Linked DNA regions of Homo sapiens: regions 1, 2, 4, 5 and 6 are each linked to region 3. The links are contacts of gene promoters, found by promoter capture Hi-C in blood cells and fetal thymus (Javierre and others, 2016). All regions are on one chromosome and are shown on one strand. Each heading gives the region's core, a stretch centred on a gene start or on the middle of the fragment in contact. The rest is flanking DNA. Distances are from core to core; before and after follow the strand shown.

The links. Contacts are between HindIII fragments. The CHiCAGO score rates a contact against its expected background, and 5 or more counts as called.
Region 1: a contact is called between a fragment that was not itself captured here and the fragment with the promoter of CDK7 in region 3, in 1 of 17 cell types (neutrophils). The highest score is 6.2, in neutrophils.
Region 2: a fragment that was not itself captured here is called in contact with the fragment with the promoter of CDK7 in region 3 in 5 of 17 cell types (neutrophils, total CD4 T cells, megakaryocytes and 2 more); the score reaches 10.6 in neutrophils.
Region 4: a fragment that was not itself captured here is called in contact with the fragment with the promoter of CDK7 in region 3 in 1 of 17 cell types (erythroblasts); the score reaches 5.1 in erythroblasts.
Region 5: a contact is called between a fragment that was not itself captured here and the fragment with the promoter of CDK7 in region 3, in 11 of 17 cell types (erythroblasts, monocytes, M0 macrophages and 8 more). The highest score is 10.3, in erythroblasts.
Region 6: a contact is called between a fragment that was not itself captured here and the fragment with the promoter of CDK7 in region 3, in 2 of 17 cell types (neutrophils and megakaryocytes). The highest score is 6.4, in neutrophils.

The regions. Positions count from the first base shown.
Region 1 is chr5:69,423,524-69,426,506 of GRCh38, reverse strand. It overlaps MARVELD2 (MARVEL domain containing 2), which reads right to left. Exons shown (of 7, transcript NM_001038603.3): 3 at 1,871-1,906. Among named protein-coding and RNA genes, the nearest start is that of MARVELD2, 9.9 kb to the right of the region's middle. The HindIII fragment of the contact is 8,540 bases long and covers 1-2,983 here.
Region 2 is chr5:69,073,083-69,076,080 of GRCh38, reverse strand. It overlaps the pseudogene LOC100130639. Among named protein-coding and RNA genes, the nearest start is that of SLC30A5, 19 kb to the left of the region's middle. RefSeq lists a silencer at 865-1,033. The HindIII fragment of the contact is 6,468 bases long and covers 1-2,998 here.
Region 3 is chr5:69,233,022-69,236,286 of GRCh38, reverse strand. It overlaps CDK7 (cyclin dependent kinase 7), which reads right to left and starts at 1,401. Exons shown (of 12, transcript NM_001799.4): 1 at 1,246-1,401; 2 at 834-893. The coding sequence starts at 1,311. RefSeq lists an enhancer at 1,151-1,679. The HindIII fragment of the contact is 18,686 bases long and covers 1-1,972 here.
Region 4 is chr5:69,469,792-69,472,808 of GRCh38, reverse strand. It overlaps the pseudogene RPS27P14. Among named protein-coding and RNA genes, the nearest start is that of OCLN, 21 kb to the left of the region's middle. The HindIII fragment of the contact is 4,373 bases long and covers 1-3,017 here.
Region 5 is chr5:69,103,075-69,106,328 of GRCh38, reverse strand. It overlaps SLC30A5 (solute carrier family 30 member 5), which reads right to left. Exons shown (of 16, transcript NM_022902.5): 3 at 3,201-3,254; 4 at 1,613-1,698. Among named protein-coding and RNA genes, the nearest start is that of SLC30A5, 11 kb to the right of the region's middle. The HindIII fragment of the contact is 4,406 bases long and covers 1-3,254 here.
Region 6 is chr5:69,011,922-69,015,238 of GRCh38, reverse strand. All of the region lies in intron 1 of LINC02198 (long intergenic non-protein coding RNA 2198), which reads left to right. Among named protein-coding and RNA genes, the nearest start is that of LINC02198, 16 kb to the left of the region's middle. The HindIII fragment of the contact is 9,639 bases long and covers 1-3,317 here.

The DNA of each region.
Region 1 (2,983 bases), core at 170-2,669, 190 kb before region 3:
AAAAATTGGCTGGGTGTGGTGGCGGGCGCCTGTAATCCCAGCTATTCAGGAGGCTGAGGCAGGAGAATTGCTTGAACCTGGGAGGCGAAGGTTGCAGTGAGCTGAGATCGCACCACTGCACTCCAGCCTGGGCGACAGAGCAAGACTCTGTCTAAAAATAATAATAATAATAATAATAATAATAATGTCCAGTATCTCAAAAAATGAGGGTAAAATTTTCAATGAGGGTAAAATTATGATTATTAAAATAAATTATTACATATATGTAAATAATGATAACAGCATCTCACTGAGTCCTCTCAGCAAACTTGCGAGGTATGAATTATTATTATTGCAATCTCACAGATGAAGAAATGCAGGCATAGAAAGGTTAAATAATTTGTCTGCTGCCACACAGTTGGTAAATTGTGGAATAGAAATTCCCTGACACTACAAAATTTGGCATCTTTAAAAAAAAGTATTATTGGCCGGGCATGCTGGCTCACACCCATAATCCCAGCACTTTGGGAGGCCGAGGCGGGCGGATCACGAGGTCAGGAGATCGAGAACATCCTGACCTCGTGAAACTAGCTAACATGGTGAAACCCCGTCTCCACTAAAAATACAAAAAATTAGCCGGCCGCGGTGGTGGGCACCTGTAGTCCCAGCTACTCGGGAGGCTGAGGCAGGAGAATGGTGTGAACCTGGGAGGCGGAGCTTGCAGTGAGCCGAGATAGCGCCACTGCACTCCAGCCTGGGCGACAGAGACTCCATCTCAAAAAAAAAAAAAAAGTATTATTATTATTAATTTCTTTTTTAACTGTCCTGTGAGTGTAGTAAAAAATTTGGCATCTGAAAGCAAGGTGAGAAGGATACAAAGAACAGCACAGAACTTTAAATACAAGTGAAGAAAGTTTCAGAGAATCACTTTCATTTAAAAAATAATTAAATTTCAAACATATGTTGGTTTGTTTACTTGCATAAATTTTCATCTAACAAAATTAAAAGCAGCTATAGATATGATTGTTTAATTTGGTCCTTTTAGTATCTGGAAAAAAGCTCAAAGTCCTAATATGAACTCGATGTAACAGCTACAATTTCTTTTTTTTTTTTTAATATATATATATTTTTTTATTATACTTTAAGTTTTAGGGAACATGTGCACATTGTGCAGGTTAGTCACATATGTATACATGTGCCATGCTGGTGCGCTGCACCCACTAACTCGTCATCTAGCATTAGGTATATCTCCCAATGCTATCCCTCCCCGCTCCCCCGACCCCACCACAGTCCCCAGAGTGTGATAATCCCCTTCCTGTGTCCATGTGATCTCATTGTTCAATTCCCACCTATGAGTGAGAATATGTGGTGTTTGGTTTTTTGTTCTTGCGATAGTTTACTGAGAATGATGATTTCCAATTTCATCCATGTCCCTACAAAGGACATGAATTCATCATTTTTTATGGCTGCATGTAATAGCTACACTTTCTTTTCTTTTCTTTTTTTAAACAGTCTCACTCTGTCACCCAGGCTGGAGTGCAGTGACGTGATCTTGGCTCACTGAAACCTTCACCTCCCAGATTCAAGTGGTTCTCGTGCCTCAGCCTCCAGAGTAGCTGGGATTACAGGCGTGTGCCACCACGTGCAGGTAATTTTTGTATTTTTGGTAGAGACAGGGTTTCACCATTTTGGCCAGGCTGGTCTTGAAATTCTGGTCTCAAGTGCTCCGCCCTCCTCAGCCTCCCAAAGTGCTGGGATTACAGGTGTGAGCCACCACACCTGGCCAATAGCTACATTTCACAGATGTACGATACTACTATGTAGATAAACAGACCTAAGAGAAAAGTATTAACAAATCTAAAGCATAATATGAAGTAAACTTTATTCTTACCATTTTCCTTTTCGATGACAATGATGGCTCATTTATCTGGAACAAAAAGAGTTCAAATAGTTTTTCAAAGGCATGTGAAGCTACTTTGCAAATATTTTCATCCATTTGCATTTATAGCCCAACCTCAATTTTAAGAGGTTGATCCTCTACTTGACGGGTGTTTCTCATCCTTTTTTTGCCTAGGTTTTGAAGGGCCAGTGGAGAACTGAGAAGAGGGATAACTGTAATTCCCTGTCAATCAGGGCATAGAGAGGAGTAGGGAATACGGAGATGGTGGAAACTGTTAGATAAACCACTCTGAATTACCCTCAAATTTTATTTATTCTTGCCTCCCATTACTTTGCATGATTAAAGAGTTAGGACAATTACTCTATAAAATTAATAGAAAAAAGCCCTAGGCCATTACATCTTCTAACCTTTAGGAAGTTATAGCAACGTACAGACAGGCACAACTTTCAACATCAGGTGACTGAAGTCTAATTAGGCATTATGAAAAGTCTCATAGACATAAGTTTTTGTTGAGAAAGGAAAAAGAAATAAAAGTATTATGTTGATCATTCTATTCATATAGAATTTTTAAATATTAAGATTTAATAACTTATGCAACTAGCATAAATTTATGAGGAAGTATGTGTTTCACTATCTGGATTTCATACTGATTAGAATTAACATTTTTTACTTTGTACACAGAGATGTACATTTAAGAAATAAATTGTAACTTTAAGAAACAAAAATTTAATACATGTGAAGGTTACATAAAAAAACAAAAATGTAAGAAATATGCTTAAAATGCTAAGACACATTTTTAGAAATAACTTGAATCTATGTAGAGTTCTAGCAAGATAAATTATTTTGTGACAATCAAGCTAGGCATGGTGGCTTATGCCTGTAATCCCAGCACTTTGGGAGGCTGAGGGGAGAGGATTGCTTGAGGCCAGGAGTTTGAGACCAGCCTGAGCAACATAGCAAGACCCCGTCTCTACAAAAAATTTAAAATATATAGAGAGAGAGATCACATGGACACATGTCAAAGTCCTTTGTATAACATGTAGGTACTTGTTATAAAACTATTTTTTTCCATCAAGCACAGTGGCTTATACTTATAATCCCAAC
Region 2 (2,998 bases), core at 290-2,789, 160 kb after region 3:
TGGTCTCACCATCTCCCCGTCCCTCTTTGCATCCTCTCTTCCAGCCCTGAGGCTGGTCTTGCCACTGCCCAGACATTTCAAGTTGTACATTTTCCTTGCCGCCTCCACAGCCTTTCATCTAGGGTCCCTCCCTCTTTTCTGTCCAAAGTCCTTCCCATTCTTTAAGTAAGTTGGAGCACCAGATAAATCCAGGCACTAGAGATGGCGTGTGTGTGTGTGTGTGTGTGTGTGAGAGAGAGAGAGACAGAGAGAGACAGAGAGGAGAGAGGACAGGTATTTAGGGGGCTGGGGTGAGGCTGCACAGGAAGCCGAGGGGGTCAGAGGAAGGGAGAAGGCGGGGGGTCAGAGGAAGGGAGAGGGCGTAGGAGGAGGAGTGTGTGGTGTGGCCCCAGGAGCACCCTTAGACCACTGTGCTGAGGGTGGAGTCATCCTCTGGGTGCACTGGCAACAGGGGCCGCTTGAGGGTGCGCCAGGTTTCATCTCGGTTCTACCATACATAATGCACCAGGTCAGCCACCCCTCAACGGCAGGGGCCACCTTGGTGCTCCTCTGGGCCCTGCCCCGACCCACACAGCTCTTCCTCCCCTGCCAGCGGCAGGAGCTCCTGCCCCACCGAGGTCTGGTCGGGTTCTGGGGTCACACACGATGCCTGTCCTGGTGCCCGGCGCCAGCCTCACCAGCCTGAGCACTCCCTGGAGGGCACAGTCCCAGTTTCACGGGTTGGCGGATTGGTTCACTTGGATCTGCAGCCCCACGAAGGCCTCCACGGGCACCCAGGCCAGCTTTTCAGAGAGGTGGAGGTGGTGCACCATGCACGCCAGGGCCGAGAAGGCTGCCCCTAAGAGGCGGGTGAAGATATTAGGGGACAGGTGCAGCTCCTCCAGGACAGGCGGGTGCTGGAAGGCACCGCGGGCACTGACGCCAGCTGGTTGGCATCCAGGCCTGTGGGTGTAGCTGGGATGCGGCGGGGCAACAGAGCTTAGGCCTGCCTGGCTGCAGCCAAGCGTCAGTTCACCGGCTTCCTCTGCCACATGGCAGCCCTGTGGAGGTGCCCGGGGGCTGGGCACGGTACCCCGGTGCCTGTCACCAGCGGGAGGGATGGGAGGTGACAGGCTGCTGGTGGGAGGATGGCCACAGATGGGCAGGGTCCCGGAGTGGAGTAGGACCCCTGTAGGCGGCAGGGCCTTCTCCTGTGCTGCTGCCCTCTCCCGGAAAGTAGCCTCCCTGCTGCTGGGCTCTGGAGATCCACTGCCTCCTTCACAAGTCCTGTTTGCTCCTGGCTGCTGGAAGTTGCCGGCTGGGGCCGAACAGTGTTGGGTTTTCTGGCATGTGGTTCCGGGCCCAGGTGTGGAATACCTGAGCCATGGCTTGGCCAGTCAATGCCAAGAGAGGGCAGATCCTGGACCTGGATGAAATCTGCCATGGGGAAACCAGGCCCCAATTCCAATTCCTGCCTCTGGCTCCCTTCCCAAAGCCTCGGCACTGCCATCTTCCTTCACCCTTCGAGTTTGGGACTTCCTCCCAGAACCCCTCTTCCTTGCCCAGAGCCTGGCTGGGCAGAAGGATCCCGGCTTGGCAGGCCTGAGGTGCAAAATAGGGTGGGGCCCATCTCACATCCACTGCCTGGCAGCAACCTGTATCCCCCACCTCCATCCATCCCTCTGCTGTCCTTGGCCTTTCTAGCATGCCCTGTGGCACTTTCTTCCATGGTGAGTGGACTTCCCTTGTCCTTTTCCTTGGAAAACATGTCTCTCTTCATGGGACCTCATTTCCTGGCTTCTCACAGTACTCAGCCCCTTTCTATTCTTCATCCTAATGTAAACATGTATGACGAAAAGACTTGAGGAACTAGACTTTTCAAGCTCCTTCTGGCTCTTTAATACTAAAATTTCATATGTAATTAAAAAATAGAACCCAAGGGCTGGGCGTGGTGACTCACTCCTGTAATCCCAGCACTTTGGGAGGCTGAGGCAGGCGGATCACGAGGACAGGAGTTCGAGACCAGCCTGGCCAAGAGGCCAGCCTGGCCAATATGGTGAAACCCTGTCTCTACTAAAAATACAAAAATTAGCTGGGCATGGTGGCGTGTGCCTGTAGTCCCAGCTATCCAGGAGGCTGAGGCAGGAGAATCGCTTGAACCCAAGAGGCAGAGGTTGCAGTGAGCTGAGATCTCACCACTGCACTCCAGCCTGGGCAACAGAGCAAGACTCCATCTCAAAAAAAAAAAAAAGAAAAAAAAATTGAACCTAAGATTCATAGGCCTTAGTATATTTAGTGAATAGCTCTTATTTACCTTTATAAGTTCTCTTTGTGCCTGACTTATTTCTCATTACCTTCATGCTCTTATTGTATTCTGATCTTGAATTAAATAGATGCCGGGGATTTATAAAATAGAGTTATAAGAAATATTTTACAGCTATTAAAGTGGGCATAATTAAAAACCTTAATGCAGTTTCAAGAATACTGTAGAGAACTCCTATGTTCCCTCCACCTGATTCCCTAATCGTTAGTAACGTACCATATCTGCCTTATTATTCTTTTTCTCTCTGTATAGATAAAGATTATTTCTTTTTCCAGAACCATCTGAGAATAAGTTACAGACATGATGCCAATCACCCCTAAATACTTTAGTGTCTGTTTCATAAAAATAAGGATACTCTTCTATGTAATCACAGAATGCCCATGAAAATCAGGAAATTATCATTGATACCATAGCACCTTCTTTTTTTTTTTTTTTTTTTAGATGGAGTTTCACTCTTGTTGCCCAGGCTGGAGTGCAATGGCACGATCTCAGCTCACTGCAACCTCCTTCTCCCAGGTTCAAGCAATTCTCCTGCCTCAGCCTCCCAAGTAGCTGGGATTACAGGTGCCTGCCACCATGCCTGGCTAATTTTTTGTATTTTTAGTAGAGACTGGGTTTCACCATGTTGGCCAGGCTGGTCTCAAACTTCTGACCTCAGGTGATCCACCTGCCTCGGCCTGCCAAAGTGCTGGGATT
Region 3 (3,265 bases), core at 152-2,651:
AACGTGAGTTATGTAATTATGACCCAAATCTTTTTTTTTTTTTTTTTAAGATGGAGTCTCCCTCTGTCACCAGGCTGGAGCACAGTGGCACCATCTCGGCTCATTACAACCTCCACCTCCCAGGTTCAAGTGATTCTCCTGCCTCAGCCTCCCGAGTAGCTGGGATTACAGACAGGTGCCACCACACCCAGCTAATATTTGTATTTTTAGTAGAGACAGGGTTTCACCATGTTGGCCAGGATGGTCTGGATCTCTTGACCCCAAGTGATCCGCCCACCTCGGCCTCCCAAAGTGCTGGGATTACAGGCGTGAGCCACCGCGGCTGGCCCGACCCAAGTCTTTTGAATGAATATAAGAAGCTACTGAATCCGACCCAGGTCTTTTGAATGAATATAAGAAGCTACTGAACTCATTTTAGACCTCACATCAATGTTGTTCATGCTAGTGAAAGTCTTTCATGGTAAATCCGTACACAGAAAATACAGATACGACACACTGAGTGGATGCAGGTGAGGTATAAACAGTGACCTAGAAAGATCATGGTATCCAATAGTTCTGAGGACCGAAAAGATGGGCAGTACTTGCCCACAACATATGAATTTATGCAGTAAAAATAACATACAGCTTCTTCTTCATTTCAATAGAAATTAAAACGGGTTCAACCCTAGAGTTCCGTTTGGGAACACAAAGCACTAATTAATTATTTTGTCTCTGAAAATGACATGAGTAACTCATTATCAGAGTATGGTCAAGACTAATAAAATGGCTATCAGTCAATTAATAATACAGACATCTTCAAGGAGACTTAAAAACAACATAAAAAGGTAACTCACTTTCTTAATGGCGACAATTTGGTTGGTGTTCTTATCTCTGGCCTTGTAAACGGTGGCAAACTAGAAAGAAAAATAGAAATAACATAAGTTTATGGGAGTTTTTGTGTTTGCCTTTTTGCATTTTTACATTTCGCGAAGCAAAGAGCCCAGAGTTCCTGAGCAGACTCGCGGCGGCTGGAAACGTGGCGGGTCAGTCTCCGTCCAGCTCCAGGCTACTCTTCAGCAAGGAGAGGCCCCTCAGGGATTCACCCCCAGGATGTAAAGAATGGGCAGCAAGTGCGTCTGGACGGTTTCCCCCAACGAGAACGAGCAGCCAAGCCAGACCTCTGGCCTCCACGGGAAAACCCGCAAAGGTGGAGGCGGCGCGGGGCTGTCCGCTTGGGGCCCTCCCCGTCCTTCCAGAGAGCCTCACCTGTCCCTCCCCAAGGAAGTCCAGCTTCTCATAACGCTTTGCCCGAGACTTCACGTCCAGAGCCATCCGGCGCCGTAAAGCCCGACTCCAGCCGAAAAGGGCGAGCTCCCAGGACAACACGAATTTAAAGCTACCTTAAAGCCTCCAACACCCACTTCCGTCCACCGGGCTCCGTCGCTTTAGTATCCCCGCCTCACTTCCGTGGTGGGCGGAGGAAGCTGCGCTAGGCCCAGGCGGTTGGCGTTCCCCACCCGTCACGTGACGCCTGTCGGTGCCTGAAGTGGGGCATCTTCAATGGCTGCTGTGTCACTCTGTTGCCGTTTTAACTTGGGTGTTTTCTACATTACCAGGAACTGGTCAGCGTTCTAATTTGGTGTTCCATGTTCGGGGTTTGGTAGGTGTCTGTGAATGTAGAAAGTTTGGCCTTGTACCTGTTCTCGCTTTTTGGTTCTTGCTCGAGCGCGTCCTGTCGCCGTGGTTGCTATGGACGCCAAACCCTGCTATCTCAGATTACTGAGACGAGTGCCAAGTTCTTACGGGCTGGTCAAGAGTATTCTTAGTCCAGTCCCTTTATGAAGAAGCAGGCCCAGGAAAACAAAATCCAACTCAACTGAAACGTGCTGTGGGAATCAGCTTCTAGTCCTCAGTTTTCTACTCGGTAAAATGGAAAAAATAATGAACTACATCACAGGAGATTGTGGGTATTAAATGAAACATGCAGAAAGCTTAGACATTAACTCAATTAATTGAGACAGTGCTCAATTAACTTAGCAGTAATGAGTACCCAACCCCTTGATTATCATAAATTGTCATAACAAACACACTAATTCATTTATTCAAAAACATATTGAGTGCTTTTCCTTTTTCATTTTTCTCTCTCTTAGGATGCTGATATTGAGTGTTATCTATGTGCCAAGCACCATTGTAGAATCTGAGATAGCAGGGAGCAAAGATCCCTGCCTTCCAATGGGAGGAGATAAAAAAACAAGTCAAATATGTGTTATGATACATAGGTGATAAGTGCTATAGAGATAATAAAGCAGATAAAGGATAACAAATCAGGGCAGGGGCAGGGATGGAGGTTTTAAATAGGGTGGTACAAGAAAGTCATCACTGAAAACCCACTGGAGGGATTGGAGCAGACAAGTGATATGACCTGACTCACTTTTAAAAGGTTCACTCTTGCTGTTGGGAGACTATATTATAGATTTTGAGGGACAAGAAAAAGAAAGAAGGCCTATTAGAGAACTATTGCAGTAATCCAGATGGCTCTACTAGTGGATAATTAAAAGTTTCTGAGCCAGAGCAGCTGTCAACATGGAAATGTGCCCCCCTCCCCCTGCCTTTGTTTGTTTGTTTGTTTTTGAGACAGTCTCACTCTGTTGCTCAGGCTGGAGTACGCTGGCCCGATCTGAGCTCACTGCAACCTCTGCCTCCTGGGTTCAAGCGATTCTCCTGCCTCAGCTTCCCGATTAGCTGGGATTACTGGCCTGCTCCACCACACCCAGCTAATTTTTGTATTTTTAGTAGAGACGGGGTTTCACCTTGTTGGCCAGGCTGGTCTCAATCTCCTGACCTCAGGTGATCCACCCTCCTCGGCCTCCCAAAGTGCTGGTATTTGTAAGTGTAAGCCACTGCGCCCAGCCTATATTTGTTATTTCTAAGAGTTGAAAATCCTAAGTTTCAGAGATATGTTGAAGAAAGTAGCAAAATACCAAGGCCAATAATTTAGTTATTTTTTTTAACTCTGGAATCAGACTGCTTGCATTTGAATAGTGGCCCTATCAGTATTCAGCCACTAGATACAACTAGGGCAAATTACTTACTTTGTTTCCAGTTTCTTCATCCCTAATAGGATCTACTCAAAGGATTGTTCCAAGGCTTAAATGACCTCACACCTGCAAAGCCCTTAGAATAATGTTTGACAGTTAAGTGTTTACTATATGTTAGCCATTATCTTTCAGTCCCTTGTCATTACTTGGGTCTAGGCAAAACTCACACATTGCAGAAAAGACACCAT
Region 4 (3,017 bases), core at 377-2,876, 240 kb before region 3:
TCAAACATAAGGGAAAATATTAGCCTTAGAAACAAAAACATAGGTGCGGTTTCCTTCAGCAAACTCCACAACTCAATAAATCAATCGGACAAATAGACTGGGTACAATGGCTCATGCCTGTAATCTCCACACTGGGGGAGGCCGAGGTGGGAGGATCACTGGAACCCAGGAATCCAGGATCAAGCTGGGCAGCACAAGACCTTATCTCCACGAAAAAAGTTTTAAAATTAGCCGGGTGTGGTGGCAAGCACCTGTAGTCCCAACTACTTGGTAGGCTGAGGTGGGAAGATTGCTTGAGCTCAAGAGGTTGAGGCTGCAGTGAGCCATGATCACACCACAGCACCCCAGCCTGGGTGACAAAGTGAGAACCTATTAAAAAAAAAAAGTTTGGGTGTGGTGGCTCACACCTGTAATCCCAGCACTTTGGGAAGCCAAGGCGGGAGGATCACTTGAGCCATGGAGTTCGAGACCAGCCTGGGCAACATAGTGAGAACCTGTCTCTATTTTTTAAAATAGTCCAAATAACCACCCATTATCTGTACCTATAATTAGCCTGAAAGTTAGAGACAACATATCATTATCATGGCCTTCTAGGGACAACATATCAAACTATCAAAGAAGTAGTGAAATTGAATATTTCTCTTGTATTCCTTCCCTTTGATATCAGTTCTGGCAACACAAGAGAAGAAAAGAGGGAAACATCCAAAGGAAATCCAGTTATGAACTCAGCTCTGTCAGAAATCAGCTGCGTAGTTTTTTTAAATTATACTTTAAGTTCTGGGATACATGTGCAGAGCATGCAGGTTTGTTACATAGGTATACATGTGCCATGGTGGTTTGCTGCACCCATCAACCCGTCATCTAGGTTTTAAGACCCGCATGCATTAGGTATTTGTCCTAATGTTCTCCCTCCCCTTCTCCCCCACCCCCCTACAGGCCCTGGTATGTGACGTTCCCCTCCCTGTGTCCATGTATTCTCATTGTTCAACTCCCACTTATGAGCGAGAATATGCAGTGTTTGGTTTTCTGTTCCCGTGTTAGTTTGCTGAGAACGTTGGTTTCCAGCTTCATCCATGTCCCTGCAAACAACGTGAATCATTCTTTTTTATGGCTGCATAGTATTCCATGGTGTATATGTGCCACATTTTCTTTATCCAGTCTATCATTGATGGGAATTCGGGTTGGTTCTAAGTCTTTGCTATAGTGAATAGTGCTGCAATAAACATGCATGTGCATGTGTCTTTATAGAATGATTTATAATCCTTTGGGTGTATACCCAGTAACAGGATTGCTGGGTCAAATGGTATTTCTGGTTCTAGATCCTTAAGGAATCGCCACACTATCTTCCACAATGGTTGAACTAGTTTACACTCATACCAACAGGGTGAAAGCATTCCTATTTCTCTCCACATCCTCTCCAGCATCTGTTGTTTCCTGACTTTTTAATGATTACCATTCTAACGGGTATACATGTGCCATGAGATGGTATCTTATTGTGGTTTTGATTTGCATTTCTCTAATGACCAGTGATGATGAGCTTTTTTTCATATGTTTGTTGACTGCATAAATGTCTTCTTTTGAGAGGTGTCTGTGCATATCCTTTGCCCACTTTTTGATGGGGTTCTTTGTTTTTTTCTTGTAAATTTGTTTAAGTTCCTTGTAGATTCTGGATATTAGACCTTGTCAGATGGATAGATTGCAAACATTTTCTCCCATTCTGTAGATTGCCTGTTCACTCTGATGATAGTTTCTTTTGCTGTGCAGAAGCGCTTTAGTTTGATTAGATCCCATTTCTCAATTTTGGCTTTTGTTGCAATTGTTTTTGGTGTTTTAGTCATGAACTCTTTGCCCATGCCTATGTCCTGAATGGTATTGCCTAGGTTTTCTTCTAGGGTTTTTACGGTTTTAGGTCTTATGTTTCAGTCTTTAATCCATCTTGACTTAGTTTTTGTATAAGCTATAAGGAAGGGGTATAGTTTCAGTTTTCTCCATATGGCTAGCCAGTTTTCCCAGCACCATTTATTAAATAGGGAATCCTTTTCTCATTGCTTGTTTTTGTCAGGTTTGTCAAAGATCAGATGGTTGTAGATGTGTGGTGTTATTTCTGAGACCTCTGTTCTGTTCCATTGGTCTATGTATCTGTTTTGGTACCAGTACCATGCTGTTTTGGTTACTGTAGTCTCATAGTATAATTTGAAGTCAAGTAGCAGCTGTGTAATTCTAAGCAAGACATTTAATCTGCCTTTACCACTCACAATAATGTCTCTGTGTTAGTCCATTTGCATTGCTATAAAGAAATATCAGAGACTGGGTAATTTATTTATTTTTTATCCAAAATGTGTTTATTGAGGCCAGGCACAGTGGCTCATGCCTGTAACCTCAGCACTTTAGAATGTCGAGGTGAGCAGATCACCTGAGGTCAGGAGTTCAAGATCAGCCTGGCCAACATGATGAAACCCCAAAATAAGCCGGGCATAGTGGCGCATGCCTGTAATCCCAGATACTCAGGAGGCTGAGGCAGGAGAATTGCTTGAACCTGGTAGGCGGAGGTCGCAGTGAGCCAAGCTCACACCACTGCACTGCAGCCTGGGCGACAAGAGTGAAACTCAGTCTCAAAAAAAAAAAAGTGTTTATTGAGATGATTTCCCACTCATCTTGATTCGGAGTGCTTTTTAATGCTGCTTCCTCCTGAAGGAACATCCTTCTGTAAGCCTTGCTTTTCTTTCTGTAGGCTGGCAGAGGACAGTGGAGCAGCCAACACACAAAATTTCTGTTAGTGCATGGCTAAAGACTGTGATGATTTTGTACCATCCTGGGCATTTACACCCATGAAGTAGGAATTGGGGCTCTGCATCAGGCACTGCTTCTTGTGTTTCCTCTTCCCCTATTCTGGAGAGGGATGAAGGAGATCCTTTGTGAGAGGCATGTTCTCCTGGGTAGGTCGTCACCGCTGGAAAAAGACTGGGTAATTCGCAAAGAAAAGAGGTGGCCGGCCACAGTGGCTCACGCCTGTAATC
Region 5 (3,254 bases), core at 546-3,045, 130 kb after region 3:
AAGCAATAGCAGCACTCAATCATATTCAAGCATACGGTGAAAAACCTCTTCCCAAGCTAGGAAATTCAGCTAGCTTTCTCAGCCCTCCAAGCTGCAGCTGCTACTGTGGCTAGAGATATGACATTTCCAATTATACCTACTCTGCATCTGACAAAGTACATGACAAACAAGTCAAAGGGATCCCAATCCAGAAGCTATTCTATTGGCCATGAGAGGGGAAAGGACTTTTCACAAAGCATTTCCACATTTCTCACCCTTCACTTTCCACTCTGTCTACCCCACTATTCTGAGTGAGATCCTTTAGAACAGTGGTCCCCAACCTTTTTGGCACCAGGGTCTGGTTTCCTGGAAGACAATTTTTCCAGACAGCAGTGGTGGGGGGATGTTTTAGGACATAACTGTTCCACCTCAGATCATCAGACATTAGATTCTCATAAGGAGCATGCAACCTAGATATCCCTCCCATGCACAGTTCACAACAGGGTTCCTGCTCCCATGAGAATCTAATGCCATTGCTGATCTGACAGGAGGTAGAGCTCACGCAGTAATGCTTGCTCCCCCGTGGCTCACCTCCTGCTCTGTGGCCTGGTTCCTAATGAGTTATGAACCCATACTGGTCTATAGCCAGGGGGTGGGGGATCTCTCTGCTTTAGAACATTCTTTTTTTTTTTGAGACGGAGTCTCGCTCTGTTGCCCAGCCTGCAGTGCAGTGGCGTGATCTCGGCTCACTGCAACCTTCGCCTCCTGAGTTCAAGTGATTTCTGGCTAATTTTTGTATATTTTTTAATAAAGGCGGGGTTTTGCTATGTTGGCTAGGGTGGTCTCCAACTCGTAACTTCAAATGATCCACCCCTTGGCCTCCCAAAGTGCTAGCATTACAGGCGTGAGCCACAGTGCTGGCCAAGAACATTCTTCATTTCACTCCTTACCTCTCATTCTCACGGCAAGGCATTTTTTCTTACACTTATTCACTAAGTAAAATCCTTTACAGATGGGGAAATGTTAAAAGAATGCTCATACACAGCTGCATGATACAATTCCTATCAATGGTCCCTAAGCATTTCCTCCTTAAACCAGTCCACTTGCAGAAAAAGACTAATCTATATAGATCTAGGGAAATATGAAATGGGAGTAGTTTACTTTATCCACCACGCATTTAATCTGATAATTGATATACTACTTCTGAGACATTTATTTATGAGAGTATTTGCAAAATTGTGCAAAAAATGAGTGCTTTTAGAGATTTTTGTTCTCCTTCTTATTGGCTAATTTTATTTACCACTTCAGACCTTTTATTATAGCTTCTAAGCTGTTAACAGGGATCATGAATAAATGATTAAAAAGCCGTTTATGCTAAAAATTTTCTGAAACTTGGAATTCTAACTAGTAAAATATCTATGACAAATCATGAATAAATATATTAATGGTATTCACTAAAGAACTAGTCCAGAAACTAAACAGGTTTGTTCTATCTGTTGAATTCTCTCTGATGCTATAAAAGTGCTAGACACATTTGTACAGATAAATATTTGACGTAAAACACAGTGGAACAAAAATAATATTCAAAATGAAGAAATACAAACACACATTCAAAATATGCATTTTTATTTACCTTAGTGGTCCACAAAGAGTGAGGCCAAAAAACCACAAGAGTGAAATAATACACCCAGCAACTGCATGTTTAAATATTTTGATCCACTATAAATGGAAACAAAAAAATTAAAAATTTCAGTCACATATATTTTGCTATATATCCAAATTTTAAATAAAATACAGAAAGATAATAATAACAAATATTTTAAAGGTGAAATCATTACATATTTTGTAAATAGAAAACATAAGATCCCTTGACTAAGTCTAGATTTCCAAGACAGTATTCTTATTCTGGGCCGGGTGCTGTGGCTCATGCCTGTAATCCTAGCACTTTGTGAGGCCGAGGCAGGCAGATCACCTGAGGTCAGGAGTTCAAGACCAGGCTGGCCAATGTGGTGAATGAAGCCCCGTCTCTACTAAAAATACAAAAATGAGCTGGGTGTGGTGGTGGGTGCCTGTAATTCCAGCTACTCAGGAGGCTGAGGCAGGAGAATCGCTTGAACCCGGGAGGCAGAGGTTGCAGTGAGACAAGATCGTGTCACTGCACTGCAGCCTGGGCGATGGAGCAAGACTCTTTCTCAAAAAAAGAAAGAAAAAAAAAAAGGACAGTATTCTGTTTTCCATTATCTATATTCTTGTCTGCTGGTAGATTTTGAAATCTTTTTCTTCAGAGTACAATTTTATGATTTCTCAGTTTCCCACTAGTTTCCTAGGATCATTTAACTTTTTGTCTTTAAATTCTTTTCTACCAGGAATTTTTAGTGATCCAATTATCTGAAAGGAGAGAAAAAAGTTAAAATGGGGTTTAGACTATTAATCATATTTTAAAAAATGTTCTTGGTCTCTGAAACAGAAGTACTTAAATTCGTCTTTCTAATAAAAAAATTATGACGCAGGTTTGTAAGTCATGGCATAAAGCAAACATGTACTATGGTATAACTGCTGCCCAAAGAAGTGACGATGTGAGATGATTATGCAAAATGTAGGACATTTCTAGTTTGAATCACAGCTGCCTAAAGAGAACAGTGACAATGATCATGAGGGTGTCACATTGTCACAATGATGATGAGGCATCATTCTAAGAACTTCATAAGTATTAATTCATTTTTCCTCACAGTTCTGTTAGGAAGTTACTGTTATCTCCATTTTACAGTGAGCAAATTAAGGTAGAGAGAAATCAAGTAACTTGCCCAAAGTAAGGGTCAGTAAGGAGGACAGACAGAACATGACTTTGTCTGACTCCAGAAATCACACTCTTAACCCCTATGCTTTGTCAGCTTTCCAGTGACATTTGTACTAGGCTCTTGGGCATGCTTTCATGTCCAATTTGTAAATCTTTCAGAATAAGAAGTGTGTACTGAAGAAAACAATTACATGAATGCTTTATAATTTTTTTTACCCTCTTGTTTTTTTTAAAAACATTCCATGATCTTAGTACTTTATGATTTAAAGTCTCCATTCTGAAAAGACAAGAGCAAGTTAACTCTAAAATTGTTCTGTGGCATACTTAAATCATTCATTAAGTACCCATTATAAAAAATAAGCATTGCCTCCTGGCCCACTAAACGAGAAGCTGCTAGGAATAAAAGATTCTGCAAAAATCTTACCTGGTGTTTGGTAATAGTTTTCCCAGAAGAAAATGGCTTTTGAAACAAAACCAT
Region 6 (3,317 bases), core at 448-2,947, 220 kb after region 3:
ATTCTCCTACTTTGTCACTCCTCCAGGCAAGATAAAATTCTCATTTGCATCCTCTCTTTTATCTGAAAAGAAATCAAACTTCTATTTGCTTCACTAAATCCATGAGGCAGATAATAGCCTTTCCTGACTCTGGAAGGGATGGCGAGGCGGCTGCTGCCTACTAATAACTGAGAAGAGAAGGACAGTCTTTCTTCAAGTCTGGGTTGTCTCTGTGAGAACGGCCAACTCTACTGGGATTTAAATATTCAAAGTACAATATCCCTCCAGCGTTTGTATAACATACCCAATAAGGTAGGGGCTTGTACATTATGGTGATGTTTTTCCTTGCTTATGTAAGACAAGCCTGGCTGGATGTAGCTGACCAAATGTTATAGGTATGTAGTCAATTCACTTGGCTTGTAGAGAGCTGTGGTCAACTTTCTTTGTTCCAAAAAGGCTGGAAAGAACACTAATATTCTTGTCTTTGAAGATACGGGACAATTGCCGTTAGCTCATGGCTATGCAGTTGTTAGGCTGGGTGTTAAGAGTGAGGAAGAGGAGAACAGTGGGGGCAGGAAAAGGGAGGGGTGTGGATTCATGTCATTAAGACTAAAACCTAGAAACTCAAGCCTTTGAAGAGGAGAAGGCCAGAAAAATCAGGAGTTACAGACAACTTGAATGGCTCATGTCCATTATCTTATGGGCCTGGTTGATGGCTTTGAAGACAGAGGTGGGGCTGGGTGTGGTGGCTCACGCCTGTAATCACAGCACTTTGGGAGGCCGAGGCGGGAGGATCACTCAAAGCCAGGAGTTCAAGACCAGCCTGGGCAACGTGGTGAAACCCCATCTCTACTAAACAGACAAAAATTAGCTGGGTGTGGTGGCGCACACCTGTAATCCCACCTACTCTAGAGGCTGAGGTGGGAGGATTGCCTGAATCCGAGAGGCAGAGGTTGCAGTGAGCCAAGATTGCACCACTGCACTTCAGCCTGGGTGACAGAGTGAGACTCCATTAAAAAAAAAGAAGAGGAAGAAGAGGAAGAAGAGGAAGAGGAAGAAGAGGAAGAGGAAGAAGAGGAAGAAGAGGAAGAAGAAGAAGAAAGAAGAAGAGGAAGAAGAGGAAGAAGAGGAAGAGGAAGAAGAGGAAGAAGAGGAAGAAGAGGAAGAAAAAGAAGAAGAAGAAGAGGAAGAAGAAGAAGAAGAGGAAGAAGAAGAAGAGGAAGAGGAAGAGGAAGAGGAAGAGGAGGAAGAGGAAGAGGAAGAAGAAGAAGAAGAAGAAGAAGAAAGAAGAAGAAGAAGAAGAAGAAGAAGAAGAAGAAGAAGAAGAAGAAGAAGAAGAAGATGATGATAAAGGTAGGGCAGTAGATCATGTCTGGCCATCATTGTTACATAATCCAGAATGTAGCATCAGCTAACTTGGGAACAGTTAACTCTTACTCAGAAAATAAAAATTCTTCAGGGAAGGCTTTCTTCACTATATGTGCCTGCTCCCTGCCCTCCATTTAGATGAAGTGCTCCGTTATATGCTGTCAAAAGATACTGTGCTTTTCCTTCCTAGCGCTTTTCACATAATCATGTTTGTGAGATTATTTGGTTAACACTCCACCATTAGACTGGGGAGGGTAGGCACTGAGTGTATCTGGCTTTGAATGTGGCTGAATAAATATTCCTGACATATGCTCAAAATCTCCTTTCCCTCTCAGGGAGCCTGGCCTGCATAGGAATTGGCATTGCTTGGTGATAATTTTCTTTCCTACTTGACTGCAAAATATGTCCATCTGTCTCTTGGACCTTCCGGTTCCCACTCTACTGGTCATAATGAGTCAATGTCTATAGGACCTGATTACACAACAATTTAGTAGTGACTTTATAACACACCCCACAAATTAACCAGGAAGAATTTCCATTCTCAGAGGACTTGGTTGCTTTACGGACTTTTCTTTGACATGATTGAGGATGTTAAGGCTGGGACTTAAAAATGCCTTTCTTTGGCTCAGGGTAGGAAAGAACATTGGGGTGATGCTGTTATTTGCTATACAAATATTTACTTTTATTGTTGTGTTACTGACCTTCCAACAGATTTTCTGTGGGCAGTAGAGCATTGTGAAAAGATTGTTGTTTTTGGAGTCAGGCAGATTTGAATTTAAATCCCAGTTCTAACAGTTACTAGCCATGAGGTATCTCATTGAGAACTTGGAAAAATGGTGCTTGTTTTGTAGGGTTAGTCCATCTCTAGATACTAGAGCTTAGAGTGCCTGATACATTGTAAGGGCCAAATATGTGGTTGGTAGGTTACAGTGAGGATTATCATTGCCAAATTTCAAAAGTGAAAATTGATGGCCACAGAAGCCAGATAATTTACTTTAAAAATTCACTGTGAGATAGTGCTCAGGAGAAATGGATATAGCTTGTTTTTTATTTTTATTTTATTTATTTATTTATTTTTTGAGACAGTTTCATTCTGTCGCCCAGGCTGGAGTGCAGTGGTGTGGTCTTGGCTCACTGCAACCTCCAACTCCCAAGTTCAAGCGATTCTCCTGCCTCAGCCTCCCAAGTAGCTGGGATTACAGGCACGCGCCACCATGCCTGGCTAATTTTTGTATGTTTAGTAGAGACAGGGTTTCGCCATGTTGGCCAGGCTGGTCTTGAATTCCTGACCTCAGGTGATCTGCCCACCTTGGCCTCCCAAAGTGTTGGGGTTACAGGCATGATCCACTGTGCCTGGCTGGATATAGCTCTTTTAAACTTCATAGAGAGGCAAACTTCTAGGAATGCTGGAGAAAGATTAATATTCAGGAACATATGGGCATTGACTCTAGTTTCTCTACTACCCTAAGATGTAGCTTTGTCAATGAATATGTTATAGAACCTGAAGAGCTTGGCATTGAAATACATTCCCTTATGTGGAGGTACATGGATTATTAGTGTAAGTTCTGATGTGGCAAAGTCAGCTTTAAGTTTAAAATGGCACTGGTTTAGCGAGAATTCGGTAGCTTTCTAGGACCCTTGCTTGCTTGGGGAATGTCTGTACCAGCTGCAGGTTCTATGAGGGTTAGAGAAGCCAGACCAAAGTACACAGCATCTACTGCTATTGTGGGTGGAATTTCCCTTCTGCTAAGAATGACAAGTTTTTAACAATGGGAATGTAAAGCAGATGTGTCTGAGGCTCTGCCTGCTACTTGGAACGCCCTGGAAACACTGCAATCCCTCTGCCCCGTGGTTCTCACACTAGCCTCGTGTTAGAATCACCTGGGAAGTGGTTAAAAAAGGCTGATGCCTGGATCCCCCATCAGATCAATTAAATAAGGAAGGGGACACACACACACACACACACACAC